Regions from separate parts of the Homo sapiens genome. Here region 1 is linked to region 2. Evidence: promoter capture Hi-C in human tissues and cell types (Jung and others, 2019). All regions are on one chromosome and are shown on one strand. Each heading gives the region's core, a stretch centred on a gene start or on the middle of the fragment in contact. The rest is flanking DNA. Distances are from core to core; before and after follow the strand shown.

Region 1 (2,892 bases), core at 237-2,736, 63 kb after region 2:
CACCACATAGCACTTATTCTAAAATTGACCACATAATTGGAAATAAAGCACTCCTCAGTAAATGTAAAAGAACAGAAATCACAATAAACTGTCTCTCAGACCACAGTGCAATCAAACTAGAACTCAGGATTAAGAAACTCACTCAAAACCACAAAACTACATGGAAACTGAACAACCTGCTCCTGAATAACTACTGGGTAAATAACGAAATGAAGGCAGAAATAAAGATGTTCTTTGAAACCAATGAGAACAAAGACACAATGTACAAGAATCTCTCGGACACATTTAAAGCAGTGTGTGGAGGGAAATTTATAGCACTAAATGCCCACAAGAGAAAGCAGGAAAGATCTAAAATCAACATCTTAACATCACAATTAAACGAACTAGGGAAGCAAGAGCAAACACATTCAAAAGCTAGCAGAAGGCAAGAAATCACTAAGATCAGAGCAGAACTGAAGGAGATAGAGACACAAAAAACCCTTCAAAAAATCAATGAATCCAGGAGCTGGTTTTTTGAAAGAATCAACAAAATTGATAGACCGCTAGCAAGACTAATAAAGAAAAAAAGAGAGAGGAATCAAACAGGTGCAATAAAAAATGATAAAGGGGATATCAACACCGATCCCACAGAAATACAAACTACCATCAGAGAATACTATAAATTCCTCTACGCAAATAAACTAGAAAATCTAAAAGAAATGGATAAATTCCTGGACACATACACCCTCCCAAGACTAAACCAGGAAAAAGTTAAATCTCTGAATAGACCAATAACAGGCTCTGAAATTGAGGCAATAATTAATAGCCTACCAACCAAAAAAAGTCCAGGGCCAGATGGATTTACAGCCAAATTCTACCAGAGGTACAAAGAGGAGCTGGTACCATTCCTTCTGAAACCATTCCAATCAATAGAAAAAGAGGGACTCCTCCCTAACTCATTTTATGAGGCCAACATCATCCTGATACCAAAGCCTGGCAGAGACACAACAAAAAAAGAGAATTTTAGACCAATATCCCTGGTGAGCGTCGATGCAAAAATCCTCAATAAAATACTGGCAAAATGAATCCAGCAGCACATCAAAAAGCTTATCCACCATAATCAAGCCTGCTTCATCCTGGGATGCAAGGCTGGTTCAACATACACAAATCAATAAACATAATCCATCGCATAAACAGAACCAAAGACAAAAACCACATGATTATCTCAACAGATGCAGAAAAGGCCTTTGACAAAATTCAACAGCCCTTTGTACTAAAAACTCTCAATAAACTAAGTACTGATGGAACGTATCTCAAAATAATAAGAGCTATTTATGACAAACCCATGCCAATGTCATTTTGAATGGGCAAAAACTGGAAGCATTTCCTTTGAAAACTGGCACAGGACAGGGATGACCTCTCTCACCACTCCTATTCAACATAGTGTTGGAAGTTCTGGCCAGGGCAATCAGACAAGAGAAAGAAATAAGGGGTATTCAATTACGAAAAGAGGAAGTCAAATTGTCCCTGTTTGCAGATGACATGATTGTATATATAGAAAACCCCTTGTCTCAGCCCAAAATCTCCTTAAGATGATAAGCAACTTCAGCAAAGTCTCAGGATACAAAATCAATGTGCAAAAGTCACAAGCATTCCTATATACCAATAACAGACAAACAGAGAGCCAAATCATGAGTGAACTCCCATTCACAATTGCTTCAAAGAGAATAAAATACCTAGGAATCCAACTTACAAGGGATGTGAAGGACCTCTTCAAGGAGAACTAAAAACCACTGCTCAAGGAAATAAAAGAGGACACAAGCAAATGGAAGAACATTCCATGATCATGGATAGGAAGAATATCATGAAAATGGCCATACTGCCCAAGGTAATTTATAGACTTAATGCCATTCCCATCAAGCTACCAATGACTTTCTTCACAGAATTGGAAAAAACTACTTTAAAGTTCATATGGAACCAAAAAAGAGCCCGCATTGCCAAGGCAATCCTAAGCAAAAAGAACAAAGCTGGAGGCATCATGCTACTTGACTTCAAACTATACTACAAGGCTACAGTAACCAAAACATCATGGTACTGGTTCCAAAACAGATATATAGACCAATGGAACAGAACAGAGGCCTCAGAAATAACACCACACATCTACAACCATCTGATTTTTGACAAACCTGATAAAAACAAGAAATGGGGAAAGGATTCCCTATTTAATAAATGGTGCTGGGAAAACAGGCTTAGCCACATGTAGAAAGCTGAAACTGGATCCCTTCCTTACACCTTATACAAAAATTAATTCAAGATGGATTAAAGACTTAAATGTTAGACCTAAAACCATTAAAACCCTAGAAGAAAACCTAGGCAATACCATTCAGGACATAGGCATGCGCAAGGACTTCATGACTAAAACACCAAAAGCAATGGCAACAAAAGGCAAAATAGACAAATGGGATATAATTAAACTAAAGAGCTTCTGCACAGCAAAAGAAACTACCATCAGAGTGAACAGGCAACCTACAAAATGGGAGAAAATTTTTGTAATCTACCCATCTGACAAAGGGCTAATATCCAGAATCTACAAAGAACTTAAGCAAATTTACAAGAAAAAAAAAACCCCATCAAAAAGTGGGCAAAGGATATGAAAAGACACTTCTCAAAAGAAGACATTTCTGCAGCCGACACATGAATAAATGCTCATCATCACAGTCATCAGAGAAATGCAAATCAAAACCACAATGAGATACCATCTCACACCAGTTAGAATGGCGATCATTAAAAAGTCAGGAAACAACAGATGCTGGAGAGGATGTGGGGAAATAGGAACACTTTTCCACTGTTGGTGGGACTGTAAATTAGTTCAACCATTGTGGAAGACAGTGTGGCGATTCCTTAAGGATCTAG
Region 2 (2,755 bases), core at 25-2,524:
CACAGCCAATGGCCTCATGTAGACCTTATTTTTATGCTTGAACACTCTGGACTTGGTGTTCTTCCTACTCTCCTTTCTCTCAAACTGGTGGTGGCTATCTTGAGTCCATTTGAAAAAACATGCTTGGTGTGAAGGAAATTCTCTTACACTGATCTCTGTCCTCTGAGCCAGTTCCCACTGTCCAGTGAGCAGATGTCCTTGAGAAAGGCTGGGGACCACAGGAACAGCCCTGGCCAAGGCTGTCCTCCCAACTCCATTCTCCTCCACCCTCCCCATTGGCAGAGTAGGAACATTGAGGGTTGATGGAAAACACATGTAATAAACTCAGACAGAAATTCACCAGTCTGTTGTTGAGTGTCCACTCCAGGGCCAGGGCTGGGATGGAAGAGGCTGGAAGGAGGAGAGAAAGGGAGGGGCAGAGAGAGGAAAGCCGGAGCAGCTGGGTCAGCATTCCCAATCCGGACATTGACTCAGGCTCCGGGAATGCCAAGGAAGAGGGTGGCAGCTACTGGAGCCAGGCTGGGATCCTGTTGGCACCAGGGATGTAGGCACAGCACTCACAGAGGGTTGGGGGCTGGGACACCTGCACACCCAGGCATATCTCCCAACCACAGGTGGAAACAGATGTCTCTTCCCCTGCGGGGAGCTCTGAGTGCTCCCCACGCCTTCGAGGTGATTCTCACAGCTCTTCACCTGCCTGAAACACCCACTCCATCTCCTTCACCTGAGAGAGGGACACACTCCAGGGACTCAAATCTGGACATCTGGACATACACTAGCTGCTCTCCTGGACTACCCACAAACCCCTTGCCTCATCTCCAGCCTCTGAGCTGGCTGCAACTTGCCCTTTCTAACTCCAGCACCACCCTCTACTGAAATTAGAACAAGGAAGAAAGTTATGCTGATCTGCCTCCATGTTCCCTTCTTTGGTGCCTGATAAAGATGAGGGAGGCTCTTGGAATAGGGGCTCAGGACTCTGAGAGCCCAACTCTGCTCAATGACCATGTTCCCACATGCTCCAAGCCACATCCCCTCAAAAAGGGTCCCTCTAGCTTGTCCTCAGTGACCCAGGAGGCAGCTGAGGACCAAGTACCCAGATTATCCGGTGCGCCCCTTCCCTCCCAGCAACCCCCAGCCTTCAGGGCTGTAGCAGCTGAGCAAATGGGGGCCCCTCCCTCTCATTGCCTGACACCCAATCAGAGAGAAACCGATCCTGGCAGGGCAGGGTGCCCGGGGCCGGGCCCAGAATAGTGCAGCCCAGCCACAGTGTCGCACACTTGCTCTCAGTTGGTCTGGGGCTGGCCACATGGAGCCCGGGCTGGAGCACGCACTGCGCAGGGTATGGGGGTCCCAGGGGAGCCGGAGCCGGGGCAGCTGAGGCCAGAAGATTGAGCGCACGGGCTGTGAATGTGTGTGTGGGCGTGTGTGTCTTCTGGTGTGTGTTTGGTCTGGATTTTCTCGTGAATATGGGCATGTGCATGTTTGGGCATATGTATTGTGAGTGTGTGTGGTTCTGTGTGCCTGGGAGTGTTTGGATGTGTGTGTTTCTGTGTGTGTTTGTGTATGGCTGCATGTCTGTGTATGGCGTGTGTCTGAGCGTGTGTATTGGTGTGCATGGGTGTGTAGGCGTGTGTTCAGGGAGAAGGGGTTTGGGAATGTAAGGCACTTTCCCCACTCCTTCAGAAACTCTTCTCCCCACAGACCCCTTCCTGGAGCAGCCTTGGGGGTTCTGAGCATCAAGGTAGGGAGAATGCCCCCTCCCTGGGGCCTAACCTCTTCCCCCACCTCCTTGTCCCCCACTTTTCTGGGACCCCAATTCCCTCCCAGCCTGGCTTTTATCTTCCTCCTTTTGGTCTTTCTTCCTCATTGTTCTTCCTCCTTTCCCCAGGTGTGTTTCCCTCACCTCCAATTTCCTCTTTTCAGAAGTGACTTTCCCACTTACTTGCTGTGTGATTTGCAGCAAATTGCTTAACCTCTCTGAATTTCTGGTCCCTCACTAGCAAAATAGGGATGATAATAATGCCTGCTTTATAAGGCTGCTGTAAGTTTTAAATGAGAAATATGTTGGAGAAAAGCCCATTGGAAGCTTGCAAATCCTAAAGATTATGAATAACATTTGAATTGATTTTGATGCATTACTCCCTATTAACCAAACAGGCCCCATTCCCCTTCCAGAGATGAGCTTCCTAGAGCAAGAAAACAGCAGCTCATGGCCATCACCAGCTGTGACCAGCAGCTCAGAAAGAATCCGTGGGAAACGGAGGGCCAAAGCCTTGAGATGGACAAGGCAGAAGTCGGTGGAGGAAGGGGAGCCACCAGGTCAGGGGGAAGGTGAGGCCAAGGCCAGTTCTGGGGAGGTGGGAGCCAGGGGAGTGGGAAATCCCAGAGGAGCCTGGGTCTGGTCTCTACCTCAGGTCCCTCCATAACACAGAGTTGGACCCAACCTTCATCTTGTGGCCTCAGTCTCCCTACATAGTAGAGAACAAGGCACTGCAGTGCCAGAGGCCAGCATGGCCAACTCAGAAAGATGGGACAGAGCCACTACCTGGGGCGACTCTCAGGTCAGCCCCTCACCTGCAAATAGGGCCACAGCATCCAGGCTTCCCACTGCTGCTGTGAGATGAATGGCGACAGCAGATGAGAACGTGCTTTGGAAGATGGAGTTACTGTCCTCTTCCCCTCCTCCCCCAAACAGGTCCCCGGTCCAGGCCAGCTGCTGAGTCCACCGGGCTGGAGGCCACATTCCCCAAGACCA

What was found. Contacts are between HindIII fragments. The study calls those that stand out against the background at their distance.
Region 1: a contact is called between a fragment that was not itself captured here and the fragment with the promoter of PRKAG3 in region 2, in 3 of the 25 tissues and cell types used here (H1 embryonic stem cells, aorta and bladder).

The regions. Positions count from the first base shown.
Region 1 is chr2:218,767,224-218,770,115 of GRCh38, reverse strand. No RefSeq gene overlaps it. Among named protein-coding and RNA genes, the nearest start is that of CYP27A1, 13 kb to the left of the region's middle. The HindIII fragment of the contact is 7,453 bases long and covers 1-2,892 here.
Region 2 is chr2:218,830,322-218,833,076 of GRCh38, reverse strand. It overlaps PRKAG3 (protein kinase AMP-activated non-catalytic subunit gamma 3), which reads left to right and starts at 1,274. Exons shown (of 14, transcript NM_017431.4): 1 at 1,274-1,339; 2 at 1,702-1,741; 3 at 2,176-2,331; 4 at 2,696-2,755. The coding sequence starts at 1,307. The HindIII fragment of the contact is 8,490 bases long and covers 1-2,755 here.